Regions from separate parts of the Homo sapiens genome. Here region 2 is linked to region 1. The links are contacts of gene promoters, found by promoter capture Hi-C in blood cells and fetal thymus (Javierre and others, 2016). All regions are on one chromosome and are shown on one strand. Each heading gives the region's core, a stretch centred on a gene start or on the middle of the fragment in contact. The rest is flanking DNA. Distances are from core to core; before and after follow the strand shown. Region 1 holds the start of CMC1 (C-X9-C motif containing 1). Region 2 has its middle 6.0 kb from the start of LINC02084.

Region 1 (7,323 bases), core at 1,064-3,563:
TAAAGCTCTTCACTGACTAATCTCTTCACCATCTACCACATGACATTATTTTCTTCATGTTTATCACAATCTGTAAAAATGTGTGTGTGTATGTGTGTGTGCCCACGCACGTGTCTGTGTAGGGGGAAAAGGGGGTGTTAATTGTTTTTTCTACCACTAGATAAGCTTTATTGGGAGCAGGAATTTTGTTTGTCCTATGTACTACTGTTCCCTAGGGTCCAGAACAATATGGGACATATACCAGACACTCAACAAGTCTTTGTTTAATCAATACTCAAAAGGTGGCATGGTCTACAGCACTGGACTGGAAATGAAATTACCTAGGTTCTAACCAGACTTGACTCTACCAGCAACTAGCTGTGTGGCCTTGGGTACAACACAAGATTGGAGTGGCTTATGAGTAACTGGAAGGTAAGCAAGTGAAGAGAGCAAGTATGAAGACTTTTTTCCCAAATTTCCTTGTCTAAATTCAAAAAGTGTAGATATATGGAAATCTTTAACCTCTCTCATTCTCAGTCTCCTCATCCGTATGAGATTACTTTAAAGGTCACTTCAAGTTCAGAAGTACCATAATTAGGCTGGGTGCGGTGGCTCACACCTGTAATCCCAGCACTTTGGGAGGCCAAGTCAGGCAGATCACTTGAGGTCAGGAGTTCCAGACCAGCATGGCGAACACGGCGAAACCTCATCTCTACTAAAAATACAAAAATTAGCCGGCCGTGGTGGCGGGCGCCCGTAATCCCAGCTACTCAGGAGGCTGCGGTGGGAGAATTGCTTGAACCCAGTAGGCGGAGGCTACAGTGAGCCGAGATAGCGCCACTGCACTCCAGCCTGGGCGACAGTGAGACTCCGTTTCAGTAAAATAAAAAAAAAAGATACCATAAATTATATGGGCCTAAACTTGAACCTTCCTTACTCACCCCTCACTTATACTCTACCCCTTCTACCCTCAAGAACCAAATCATGGTAGTCATCCTGAAACCAAGCATCGCACAGTGCACCTTACTATCTAAACCTTTGCTCATAGGGCTGCCTCTTCTCCAGCTCCAACCACTGGAAATTCCATCCCTCAAAGCCCAGATCAACTGCTAACTGCTTCATAACCACCTAGTCCAAAATGAATATGATCATTATGTTCCAGAACTCCTCTATGCTTCAAATTAGAGTACTCCCTGATCTACCACTACCTGCTGGACTAGTCACTTAACTTCTCTTCGCCTCAGTTTCCTAATCTGTAAAATGGAGCTAAAAGGACCTACCATACCACATATTATTGTTGGATAATAGAGAACACTTAGCATGGTAATAACATGTTCAATTAAAACATTATTTCTGTGCTACATATATTTTCCATGCTCCTTGAAGGCTCCGAAAGAGCATTTTCCATTTCTGAATCTCCCAAGTTTGACGCCATTTACCTCTCAATGTTTTGACTTTTTGTATCCATAAAATGAAAGAAATGGACTAGACCAACTACCATTCCCTCCAAAAATGTTATCTATTCCCTTGCAAAAATAGCCTAACGCAAAGATACTGCAGGTGACCTTCCACAAGGACGGGAATTCGAGGGTAAGTTAACTATTGCTGCAAACGGAAGTGGCTGGAAGCAAAGAGATTAAAACAACATTCAAGATTTTGAAGATCCTTTCCAAAGAAACTGACTCCTGCCATAGTGATGGATCCTTTGAAATATGTTTTTAAGTTGGGTTACAAGGATGAACTCGGGGTCCATGAACTCCCAAACAGAAATGTAAAACTGTGCGCCAGAACAAATATACAAATTTTTCTGGGGCCAGAGTGTCTGCAGCATACATTAAATGCATCTGTGACCTTAAGGGGCGAAAAGAGGGTGACAATGAAGAGACTAGTCGCGTTAAGTTGGAAACCACAATGGATGATACTTTAGACAACAAACGCAACCTCAGATAACCATAATCCCCAACAAGTGAGAAGATGACCTCAGACCGGGCGAAGCAGCCGCCGGGTATGAGGAGACGCTGGTGGAAGCAATGCTACCCAGAGCTCTGCACCTTTCCCAGGTCGGCATCCAGCCCGCATGGCCCGCGGCGTGAGACCCGGGGCGAGGCCCCTCGGCAAACCCCGCTTCCCGCCCCGGTACCTGCGGGGTCGAGCGCCATCTCGGCGGGCCGAGAAGAACGTAGCCGCTTGGCGGCTCCGGGGCACGCAGGAAGGGGAGTGGAGGGGAGGGGCTTGGGCTCGGACGCACGTGCGACCCCCGGGAGCTTCCCGCAACAGAAACACGGGCCCTTTGCAAAGCACCGCCAGGACCCGTTCCCTCTTCCTTCCCAGGCTCCTACTTCCGCCGCCCGTTGCGCCTGCGCCTTTCTGGCCCCGCCCCAATCCTGTAACTAGAGTGGAACTGACTTCGCAGGGGGAATGACCAGGAAAGGGGGCGTGTCTGCGTGCCTTTGGGGCGGGACCGTGCAGGACGCGCGCAGCCTCGCTTCAGGAGGCTTGTGCACCAGTTGCAGACCCGGGTCGGCCGTGACTGGAGGCGGACCTGCAGGACTTTGGGACTGTGCCTCACTCGGTGACTGGGCCAAAGTCCGAGCCCCGTCCCCCATACCCGCCTTCGGAGAACCAAATGAATCATCCAGTTCCTTTTTTTTTCTTCGTTAACGTTCATTCATTCATAAATGTCTATTTCATGCCTGCCAAGTTCCAGCCACGGTTCTGAATACGAGGGGAAAATAACAATAAAAATAACGTCCCTGTTCTCAAGGAGCAGTGTGGCAGAGGAGACAAATAAAAGCAACACGCTGTTAAATGTGATAAACGCCACACGCACTAGTTGTTCACAGCTTGTTCTACCATAAAGGTGATATGGTGTGTGCAATATCGTTATTTCTCCTTCAAATCAAAGACTGTGGCTCTCCTAGACGTTAAAATATGGGCTCTAGAAGTACCTCTATGTTGTGAAATAATATCCTCAGGACGTACAGTATGATTTGGGTGATGTTACAAATCCTGCCTCTATCAGTAAAAGCTGTATGTTTTGTGAGAGTAAAATGAAGGAAGGTAATAGCCGTCCCGCTGAAGACCCACTACTCACCTCTTCTCAATAGAAGAAACTTTCTAGGTGGCACTTAGGTTCATTTCCACTCACAAACCAGCCTTCAGAAGTGCTTCCTTGTCAAATTCACGTTTAACTGGCTCGAGCCACGAAAGGGTGAGCTGAGGCCTGGGACAGATGGGACAGATGTTTAGAAAAACAAGGAGCAGCTGCTTCTTCCCTGCAAGGGATTCAGGGCTTTCAAAATGATCCCCTCCCCACCTACCTGCAGTCCCTCCTCCCCTGCTGCTGCTTCCGCCTGGTCAGTTGGCAGAAAAGCTGAGGCAGTTGAGCAGGGCTGGGAAAGTGGGTCTCTGCTCAGCAGGTCTTCCGTTTAAGGGCCTATTTGGGCATAACGGCCCTTATTACAGCTGTAGGTTGAGGTGCCAAGGTGAAGAATTAACGTTTCACTCACCCAGCCAGGGAATCAGGTCCTTTTCCTTGTATATTTTGTAAATATGCTTAGAAATACACCAAAATGACTCTGGTATGCCTCTTTTATTGTTCTGAAGGTGAAGGATTTGATTTAGAAAGCTAAAGCAATCTTTTTGAGGAGATGGAGTATGAAAACACAGGTCAGACACCCATATTCAAGAATTAAACTAAATCTTTCTATATGCAAAAGGGTATTATGGTAAAGGAGGAAAGTTTGATCTGTTATCTTAGTGAGTTGAGTAAGTTCTATTATTTTTCTGGACTTTGGTTTCCAATTTACAAGGTTGTTCTGAGGAATAAATGTGATATCATACAATGCATTTGAAAGACTTTAAAGGACCACTTCTACCATTTCTGCCATAGCTATTACTTGAAACATTACTATTTAACATTTGTTTTTAAATCAACACATTTTTAAAAACACTTAAATAGGCACTATTTACTTTAGCCTTATCCTAAGCAACAGTATCTGTAATATCATGGGTTTTGTGTGCCCCATAGAATGAACTGCTAGACGTATCACACCAGGAGAAGCACTAGCAAAAACGGTAGCCCAATACCTGATACATAATAGTATATCTCTCTCTACTCCCATGTTAAACCAGATACTTTGGGGGGAAACTGAGTCTTTACAATCTATACCTAGGGAAGATAAGTCATTTTTTAAGTTAAGCGAATGTAATTGGCAATTAAAAACAGAAGAAATTTCCTGAGGCATCGCATTATTAATAGGCAATTCTTTGGGTAGTAACTGCAAAAGGAGCTCAAGGAAAGAGGAGAGGACATCATCCTGGAAATTAGGAACAGTGTCTTACCCAGCTGTGATCCCTAGAGCTCAGGCAACGTCTGGTAACTGGTGACCCCACAAAAGCCTTTCTCAAAGGATTGAATGCCGCAATGGTTAGGAAAGACTTCAGAGATAAGTTAGAAGTTATGCTCGGCCTTGAACGATGGGTACAATGAGTAGACAGAAAAAAGGGCATCTCATGCTGGGAGAAAAATGAGAGCAAAAGCATCTGGGATTTGAACTGTTCTTGAAAGAGCATGGTGGAGCATGGCAGAGTACAGGCTAAGGAATGGAATCACATGAACAAAAGCACAGGGGTGGGAAGCACCCAGCTGTGTGGCAGGAAGCACCACGGGGCTGTGTGGCAGGCATGTGGTGGGCAATGCTTGAAACTACTTCAATGCATTTTAGGATTTGGGAAGCTAGGGCAGTTATGCATTGGCTAGAAAAGTCCAGATTCCCACAGCCTTAAACACTAGACAGAGGTGTGTTTGAATGTGTTACTATAAGCAACCAGAATCTGTTGAAGGTTAATATATAGGAAAAGAGCATTGTGGTCAAAATTTTCTAAAGGTGTTTTATAAAAGTTTTGCGCAGGATGAATGTAGGCAGCGAGGAAAGAGCTAAAAGGCAAGCAGAAAAGTAAGGAGGCTATTGTACTGGTTTGGGCAAGATATGAAAAGAGCCTCAACTGGGATATATAAAAGGATGGATGTGAGAGTAATTGCAAAGGAAGAATCTATCCTTTGAAATTGGATTTAGAAGACTAAGACAAAGAGTCAAGATTTCTGGATAATTCCTTTTTTTGGCAAATGTATACAGACAAATGAGAAAATCATGGCAATGTGCCTATTCATGCCTGAAATGATCTGCCTTGATCCTCATTATTGGGGGCTAACAGTGGCGATAATGAAACAGAAAGATCAGTTCAGAGAAATTTGCAGTAATGCAGGGTAATAACAGTAGTTGAACCACAGTGAATTTCTCTTTGTATGTGAAGGCAAAGGAATGTGCAAGTAGAAACAAGTATCTTGATTATTTTTGAGTCAATTCTGAATTGGATCTAACATTCCTTTATGCTATATGTTGATATGCAGCTAGTTGTTTTTTGAAATTGAGATTATCAGTCAGCCCCTCCTTGCTTCTGCCTCTTCTTAGCATCAGAAGTAAAGACTTTTCATCTGCAGCTTGGCTCTGCTACAGATGAGAATAAAACTTGAAATCAATGAGATTTCAAATTTGAGTCAGTAAGAATCAAACTTGAAAGAATATTAGACGCCTCATCTCTACCAGAGGATAGGATTTAGAAGTAGTTCTCGGCCAGAAGATCACTAATCAAGGGTCCCTGGTGGCCCTGCCTACTTTCTGAGCTGTATTATTTAGCACCCAGTTTGCATGGCTTGTGCCTTCTCTGGTTTAAAAGGACTTAGGTCCATGTTGACATTTCTATTATTTGCTAGGGTGGTCATAATGAAGTGCCACAGTCTGGGTAGCTTAAACAACAGAAATATTTTCTCACAATTGCAGGTTAGAAGTCTGAGATCAAAAATGTCGGCAGAGTTGCTTTCTCCTGAGGCCTCTCTTCTTGATTTGTACATGGCATCTTCTCCTGTGTCTTCACATGGTCTTCCCTCTGTGTGGCTGTGTCTCCTAATGTCTTCTTGTAAGGACATCAGCCATATTGGATTGGGACCAACTCTAATGAATATCCTAATGGCCTCATTTTGTCTAAACTACCTCTTTTAAAACCGTATCTCCAAATGCAGTCACATTCTGAGGTGCTGGGGGCTAGGACTTCAACACAAGAATTTTGGGAGACACAGTTCAACTGATAAAAGCATTGAAATATTTTTAAAGGACTACAATTATTCCCTGAATCCCAAATCACTTCACTAGAGCCCTGAGAACCTGTCTAGTGTTAGCCTGTCACCAGAATAAAATACTTTGTCCCTGTTTTCCTGGCTGTTGAATAGGGCCTGTTTTAATCTGACTCAGTTCACCTATCCACTTCAATCAGCTCCTGACTGTCCCTTCTCTACATCTGATTGATCAAAACATGTAGTCAGTTCTCCTTCCTTAATATATCTTTATTTCATCTGCCAATCAGAGTCATAACTCCTAGTCCAAGGTCTGCCCATTTGTGCTGATATTATTGTAATAGTTCTGAACTGGCTCTCTGTTCCTAGGCATTTCTTCCTCCCACTTATTCTCTCTATTCCATGTCACCCACAACAGCAAATATGATTATAAAATTTCTTATATAAAATTCCCAGTAAGAGACAACCTATGGAATGGGAGAATATATTTGCAAATCATACAAATGATAAGGAGCTAATATCCAAAATATATAAGGAATTCAAACAACTCCATAGCAAGAAAACAAATAACCCAATATAAAAATGGGCAAAGGACATTAATAGGCATTTCTCAAAAGGAGACATATAAATGATAAGTATGTGAAAAAATGTTCAACATCATTAATCATCAGGGAAATTCAAATTAAAACCACAATGAGATATCACTTAAGATCTGTTAGAATAGCAGAAATACAGGAAGATAATAAACATTTATGACGATATAGAGAAAAGAGAACACTTACACACTGCTGGTGGGAATGTAAATTAGTACAGCCATTATGGAAAACAGTCTGGAGGCTCCCCAGAAACTTAAGAACAGAACTATCATATGATCCAGCAGTCCCACTACTGGGTATATATTCAAAGGATATGAAAGCAACATGCTGAAGAGATATCTGCACTCCCATGTTTTATTGCAGCATAATTCACAATAGCCAAGACATGGAATCATCCTAAGGGTCCATCAATAGACGAATGGATAAAGAAAACATGGTATATATACACAATGGAATACTGTTCAGCTCTAAAAAGAGAAATTCTGTCATTTGCAACAACATGGATGAACCTGAAGGACATTATGTGTCCTTCAATTTTGAAAGACTCTTGCGTGAAATAAGCTCAGCACAGAAAGAAAAATACCGCATGATCTTACTTATATGTGCAGTGTGAAA
Region 2 (7,042 bases), core at 1,215-3,714, 530 kb after region 1:
GATAAAGTAGGTTTCCATCTGTTTTTCTACTCTCAGGGCAAATTGTCAATTTCCTGATGCCTTTAAAAATATATTTCAATAACTCATAAGGAGGAGCATCATATGGAAATCATAAGTGCTAAAAAAAGGACTATTAAATAATTTGGTTGTTAAGCAGGGAGGGGAGTGATTTCATCTACCACAAGAGAAGTGGTTTTTTACCACTTTATTTGGAAATGATTGAGGGAGGAATCTGAGGGAGAGAAAGGTCGGGGGAAAGTCCAAGTTACTATCCACAATTCACAGCCTAGAACTTCTAGAACTGGAATGGAGTTGGTTACTGAGAGAGACCATCATGGAAATTCAAAGAATAACAAGGGTAGATTTGAACATGTAGATACCATTGCCACCATCTTGTTCCCTTCCTCGTCCCAGACACCAAATTGTAGACTATTCCGCAAAACTTCAGGCAATCAGAATGTTTCCTGCAAAGGTCTTAGATTGCCACCATTTCTTCTTGAAATGACTCAATATTAATGCCATAAGTATATAGCCTTCTGTTAACTAGCACTTCTTCCTAAATCCCTAAATCAGTCATCATTCCTTGAGTCACCGAATTGGAGAGCTGGGAGGCACCTTAGAGACTGCTCTAGTTCTATAAACCCCACTATACAGAGGCAAGAACCAAGTATCACTATGGTTTTGTGGTTTGCCAAGCCCCTTGAGGAACTCATTGGTTTGGCAGTGTATCATGGGTTAGACCCTATACTTTGGACATACAATATTTCAGAGGCTTGGGAAATATGTTTAGTCATGAAAACGTTAAATTCAAAAGCATAGTTTTTATTATTGTTTATGTTTTTCAGAGGATGAACAATATTTGAAATCCAAATGTATCCATGATTAATTTTTCTTCTTTTTCTTCTTCCTCTTCTTTTCTTCTTCTTTTTTTTTTTTTTTTTTTTTTTTTTTGAGACAGGGTTTCACTTTATCACCCAGGCACAATCATAGCTCACTGCAGCCTCAAAATCCTAGGTTCAAACAATCCTTCTACCACAGCCTCTTGAGTAGCTAGAACTACAGGTGCACACCACTATGCCTGGCTAATTAAAAAAAGTTTTTTTGTAGAGATGGATTCTCACTATGTTGTCCAGGCTGATCTTGCAATTCAGGGCTCAAAATCCTCCCACTTCAGCCTCCCAAAGCACTGAGATTATAGGCATGAGCCACCACACTCAGCCTTTTTTTAAGCCTATCATGGAGTGGTGCCTTCTTCATTGCACACTTTGGCCTATATAGCTTTGGGGTAGTGAATCCACAGAATATATGTTCTTCACCCTACATATTTGCTGGTTTTCTTAATCTTGGCAGGCAAATTTTGTCTTTATCTTACAGATCTAAAACCCAAGAATGATCTTTGGTATTTTACTTCTTTCAGGATTCAAGTTCCTCTGGTAAAAAGGCTTGTTGTTGATATAATTAACCAATAGTCTGTGCTCATCACTAAATATTTAGAAGACCACAGACACAGACTACATAGCTGTTATAGAAGAGCACAGAGAAGCATGAGTTAAGTTAGTGTGCAAAAATGTGTATACATGCTTGTATGTAGGAGTGTGTATTTGTGCCCCAGAGCTAATAACATTAAGCTGAGATTACAGAGTGTAGAATACAACTTGGAGAAAATGGTTAAGATGGTATCTAATATTTCCATTAGGGACTTTTCTGTTCAGAGCTGTCAAAACAGATTCTGTGAATTGACTAGACTATGGAAGGTGATCATAATGATATTGATGAAACACATAACTGAAAAACAGAATTTAAATAGAAGAGAGTCTCTAGAAATACAACTAAATCTTAATCTGGAGATACATGCCTCAAAATAACTCTCTCCCATTCCTTTTTCCCTCTCAACAAAAACAAACTCACTGGAAAAGGACAATCAAACATTTCCAAGCCTTGCAATGCCCTATTTCCCATCGGAGTTTCGGGAAAAAAAAATGTATGAGTCACATTCTTAACCTGGCAATAAGGTCCACGAGGTATTTGGTTTCTCTGTGTTTGCCAGCTTTCTTGTACATAGGCGAGGTTGCCAGATCCAAAGAGAGAGTAGTGTGGATAAGACCATTTGACAAAGGCTGCAGCTTTAGGAAGAACTTGACCAACCTTTAGTAAACCAGCAAGAAGGAGGCCAGACTCTCTCCTTCCACCCTCAAATCCCCTCAGTGCCCCTGTTTGGCTGAACCCAGTGAGAATCCAAAGGGCTAAACAATCTCTTGATGCAGTCATAGAGGTCAGCCTCCTCTATAGAGGAGGCAGGATGGCACAAGGCAGGACAGAAAAGAATGAAGGGTGAAGCTTGGGGGCAATGAAGAAGAAATCCAGCCCACCTATCACCCTCCAATGTCTTGACTGCTAAAGGATACTCTTGAGAGTACTCTTAAGTACTCTCGAGTTGTTTTGAGATTCCCCAAAGAGGATGTTTCAAGAATAGCTGAAAAATTTGGGTTTTTATGTGAAAATCCCCCTACTTTTCAGTTTTGGCACCCTACTTGAAAAAATTAAATAACCAAAATACTCCTGTGAGGAAGATTTCACTACGGAAAGCTTTTGACCACTGATCTAGAGCAATGCTATGATTTTAATTGAATTTCAAAAATGTCAAAAGCATGGCCGGGCGCGGTGGTTCACACCTGTAATCATCCCAGCACTTTGGGAGGCCAAGGCAGGCAGATAGCCTGAAGTTGGGAGTTTGAGACCAGCCTGGGCTATATGGTGAAATCCCGTCTCTACTAAAAATACAAAAATTACCCAGGCACAGTGGCAGGCACCTGTAATCCCAGCTACTTGGGAGGCTGAGGCAGGAAAATCGTTTGAACCTGGGAGATGGAGGTTGCAGTGAGCCGAAATCGTGCCACTGTACTCCAACCTGGACAACAGAGCAAGACTCCTCTGTCTCAAAAAAAAGAAAAAAATGTCAAAAGCAGATTTCTGCTCTAATACAAGATGGAGTAACAGGGATATGAATTAACTTTCTGCTTGAAAAAAAAACTAAACTAAAAATCAGATATATATATATCTGATATATATAACCAGATATATATATATATATATATATATATATATATATATATGGCTTCCATTAGGCAATGTAAAATAGTAATCTATTAAAGAAGAGAAATGAATGAGGAAAACCCTAATATTTCTCCAACTTACTGCCTGGAGAGTTTCCAGGCCTCAGTTTAGCATGGGGATAGGGACCCAGACAAAGCCCAGCAGTCTTCTTGATTTGAGGAGACAAAACTGTAAGGATGAGGAGGCCAAGATGGCTAGAGTTTTTGGAGCAGAGTTCCAGAGAGGAGAGACCTGCCCAGAAAGAAAAATCTAGAGAAGTGAATAGGGTCTTCCTCAACTCCACCTGAGTGTTGATCAGCACACGCATGTGAAGAAAATACCCCAAGCCCACAGGATTAGGCAGGATTTCTCAACCTCAGCTCTATTGACATTTGGAGGCAAAAAATTCTATATTGTGGGAGCTGCATTATAGGATATTTAGCAATATCCTGACTTCTACCAACTAGATGCCAGTAGCACTACCCCACCAGTTGTAACAACAAAAAGTGTCTCTACACATTGTCAAATGACCTCTATGGGGCAAAATTATCCCAGCTGAGAACTACTGGATGAGAGGTATTAATACCCAGTATTTACCCTGACTGAGGATTGTCCCCTTTCCCACTCACGAAAGTGGAAAACTTCATAATTCATGAGGTATCAGGAAAAGAACTCAGAAGGGTCTTGCTTCAGTAGTGAGCTAAAGTAGTACTGGACTAAATGCTGCTCTGGTTTAATCTAAGTAGGCTTATAAACAAGAAGTGAAACTTAACTATATCCATGAAGAAAGCTCAAGTTATATGTATAGTAATAAAACTAACAACCAGCACAGAACAAAAAATATTTTAAATGCACAGGACCCAATCAAAAATGGCCAGACATTCAAAAAAGCAGGAAAATATGACCCACAATAAGATTAAAAAAATCAATCAAAACCAACTCAAAGTGACAGATGATAAAATTAGTAGACAAGGATATTAAATAGTTACTATAACTGTATTTCATATGCTCAAAAAGCTAGAAAAAAGGTTGAGAATGGTAAGTAGAGACATGGATGATATTTTTAAAAGAACCAAATTGAACTTCTAGAGATAAAAACTACAAATGTCTGAAATTGAAAAACACTTGGTGAGATCAGTGGCATATTATACATTGCAGAAGAAAAGATTAGTGAACCTGGAGGTATAGAGATTGAAAGGATATAAAATAAAACACACAAAAATAAAAAGCTGGAGAAAAATAAACAGAGCTTTAGTGAGCTGTGGGATAATTTCAAGCAGCCTAACATGCCTGTAATTGGAGTGCATCAAAGAGAGGAAAGAGAGAAGGGTACAGACAAGATATTTGAAAAAATAAAGGTCAAAATATTTCAAATGTGGTAAAAATTATAATCCACCAATCTAAAGAGTTCAATTAAACCAATCACAAAAAAATGCAAAGAAAACTACACCAAGGCTTATCTTAATCAAATTATTTAAAACCAGTGATAGAGAAGAAGACATCAAAACAGTCAGGGGGACAAGGACACATTCTGGGCAAAGGAACAAACATATTAGGTTAGGTTAGTGCAAACGTAATTTCGGTTTTTGCAATTACCTTTAATGAAAAAACCTAAATTGTGTTTGCACCAACCTAATAAAAATGATAACAAAAAATAAGTAAGCTGGATAACATTAGAACATCTTTGAAGTACTGAAAGAATAAGTAAAACCATCAACCTAGATTTTTATACCTAAGGAAAGCATATTTTAAAAACAAAGGTAAAATTACTTTCTCAGACATACAAAAGCTAAAAGAATTCATCATCAGGAGACCTAAGCTACAAAAAAAAAAAAAAAAAAAAAAAAAGGTAAGAGAAATGCTTCAGGCAGAAGGAAAATGATACCAGATGGAAATTTGAATCTACTTAAAAAAATGTAGGGCACTACAAATGTTAGCTACGTGGGTAAATATAAAATATAAATATAAAATACTTGTTTTCTTATTTTTAAAATCTCTTTAAAAGAAAATGGACTGTTTAAAGCAAAAATAATAAGATATTCTAGGTTTTTTTCTTTTAAAAAAGATTTTGTTACTTTTTGTTTGTTTGTTTTTTTCTAGCGGCCCTCATCCAATTGTGTGGTGTTTATAACATACATGGAAGTAAAATATGTGATAACTATAGCACAAATGCTGGGAGGGGAGAAACAGAAGCATATTAACTGAGTTATTACCCTATGCATCAAGTGGTATAATATAATATCACTTGAAGGCAAACTGTGATAAGTTAAAGAATCATAAAACATATTCAATTAATCTAAAGTAGGCACAAAAAGAAGGAAAAGGAAATGAATAAGAAACAGAAAACAAATAATACTGTGGTAGATTTAAACCCAACTGTACTAGTCAGGGTTCTCTAGAAACAGAACTAATAGGAGAGATGTGTGTATGAAAGGGAGTTTATTAAGGAGTATTGACTCACATGATCACAAGGTGAAGTCCCACAATAGGCCATCTGCAAGCTGAGGAGCAATGAAGCCAGTCCGAGTCCCAAAACCTCAAAAGCAGAGAAGCCAACAGTGCAGCCTTCAGTCTGTGGCCGAAGGCCCGAGAGCCGCTGGCAAACTACTGGTGTAAGTCCAGGAGTCCAAAAGCTGAAGAACTTGGAGTCAGATGTTCGAGGTCAGGAAGCATCCAGCATGGGAGAAAGATGTTTACTACAAACCCTAAAGCAACCACTAAAATAACACAACAAAGAATTATAGCTAATAAACCAACAAAGTATCACCTGCCCAGCTACTTTTTTTTTTTTTTGAGACAGAGTTTTGCTCTTGTCGCCTAGGCTGAAGTGCAATGGCGTGACCTCGGCTCACTGCAACCTCCTTCTCCCAGGTTCAAGCAATTCTCCTGTCTCAACCTCTCGAGTAGCTGGAATTACAGGCACCTGCCACTACACCCGGCTAATTTTTGTATTTTTAGTAGAGATGGGGTTTCACCATGTTGGCCAGGCTGGTTCGAACTCTTGACCTCAGGTGATCCACCTGCCTCAGCCTCCCAAAGTGCTGGGATTACGGGCAGGAGCCACTGCGCCCAGACAATTTTTTTTATTTTTTTGTAGAGACAGGGTCTCACTATGTTGCCCAGGCTGGTCTTGAAATCCTGACCTCAAGCAATCCTCCCACCTGAGAAATCCACTTTAAAAATAAAGACATAGACCTGGCATAGTGGCTCACGCCTATAATTCCAGCACTCTGGGGGGCCAAGGCAGGCAGATCTCTTGAGGCCAGGAGTTCAACACTAGCCTGGCCAAGATGATGAAACCCCGTCTCTACTAAAAAAACACAGAAATTAGCCAGGTGTGGTGGCACACACCTATAGTCCCAGCTACTCAGAAGGCTGAGACACAAGAATCCCTTGAACCTGAAAGGCGGAGGTTGCAGTGAGCCGAGATCGCACCGCTGCACTTCAGCCTGGGAGACAAAATGAGACTCTGTCTCAAAATAAATAAATAAACGGACACACACGGTTTAAAATTTAAAAGGCAAAAAAGATATAACATGCTAACACTAACTAAAAGAAAGCTAGAGTGGCTATGTTACTATCAAAGTAGATTTTAAAAAATAAAACTGGTCATTTAATAATGATAATGGGATAAATTTATCAAAAGGTCATAATAATCTTAAGTTACCAGCAACAAACAATAGAGATAATTATTTGATGTAACATTCAAAAATTAATCATTGTAATTCACCATGTTAATAGACTAAAAGTGAATAACTATTATTGTCTACATAGACGCAGAAAAAGTATTGGACAAGACGTGCGGCCAGCCGAGCCAGCATTCCTGGCTCGCTTCAAGGAGTGGGTTGGCTATAGGGAGGAGCCCACCGTAGAGACCAAGAGAATCCAGCCTCATCTCCCAGACGAAAATGGGGATCACAGTGACAAAGATGAAGAGCCTCAAGTGATG

The links. The method cuts DNA at HindIII sites, captures the fragments that hold promoters and counts their contacts. A CHiCAGO score of 5 or more calls a contact.
Region 2: a contact is called between a fragment that was not itself captured here and the fragment with the promoter of CMC1 in region 1, in 15 of 17 cell types (activated CD4 T cells, naive CD8 T cells, total CD8 T cells and 12 more). The highest score is 17.0, in activated CD4 T cells.

What each region holds. Positions count from the first base shown.
Region 1 is chr3:28,236,609-28,243,931 of GRCh38, reverse strand. CMC1 (C-X9-C motif containing 1) reads right to left here and starts at 2,313. Exons shown (of 4, transcript NM_182523.2): 1 at 2,120-2,313. The coding sequence starts at 2,138. RefSeq lists a silencer at 2,021-2,100. The HindIII fragment of the contact is 9,835 bases long and covers 168-7,323 here.
Region 2 is chr3:27,703,417-27,710,458 of GRCh38, reverse strand. It overlaps the pseudogene KIAA1143P2. Among named protein-coding and RNA genes, the nearest start is that of LINC02084, 6.0 kb to the left of the region's middle. The HindIII fragment of the contact is 249 bases long and covers 2,340-2,588 here.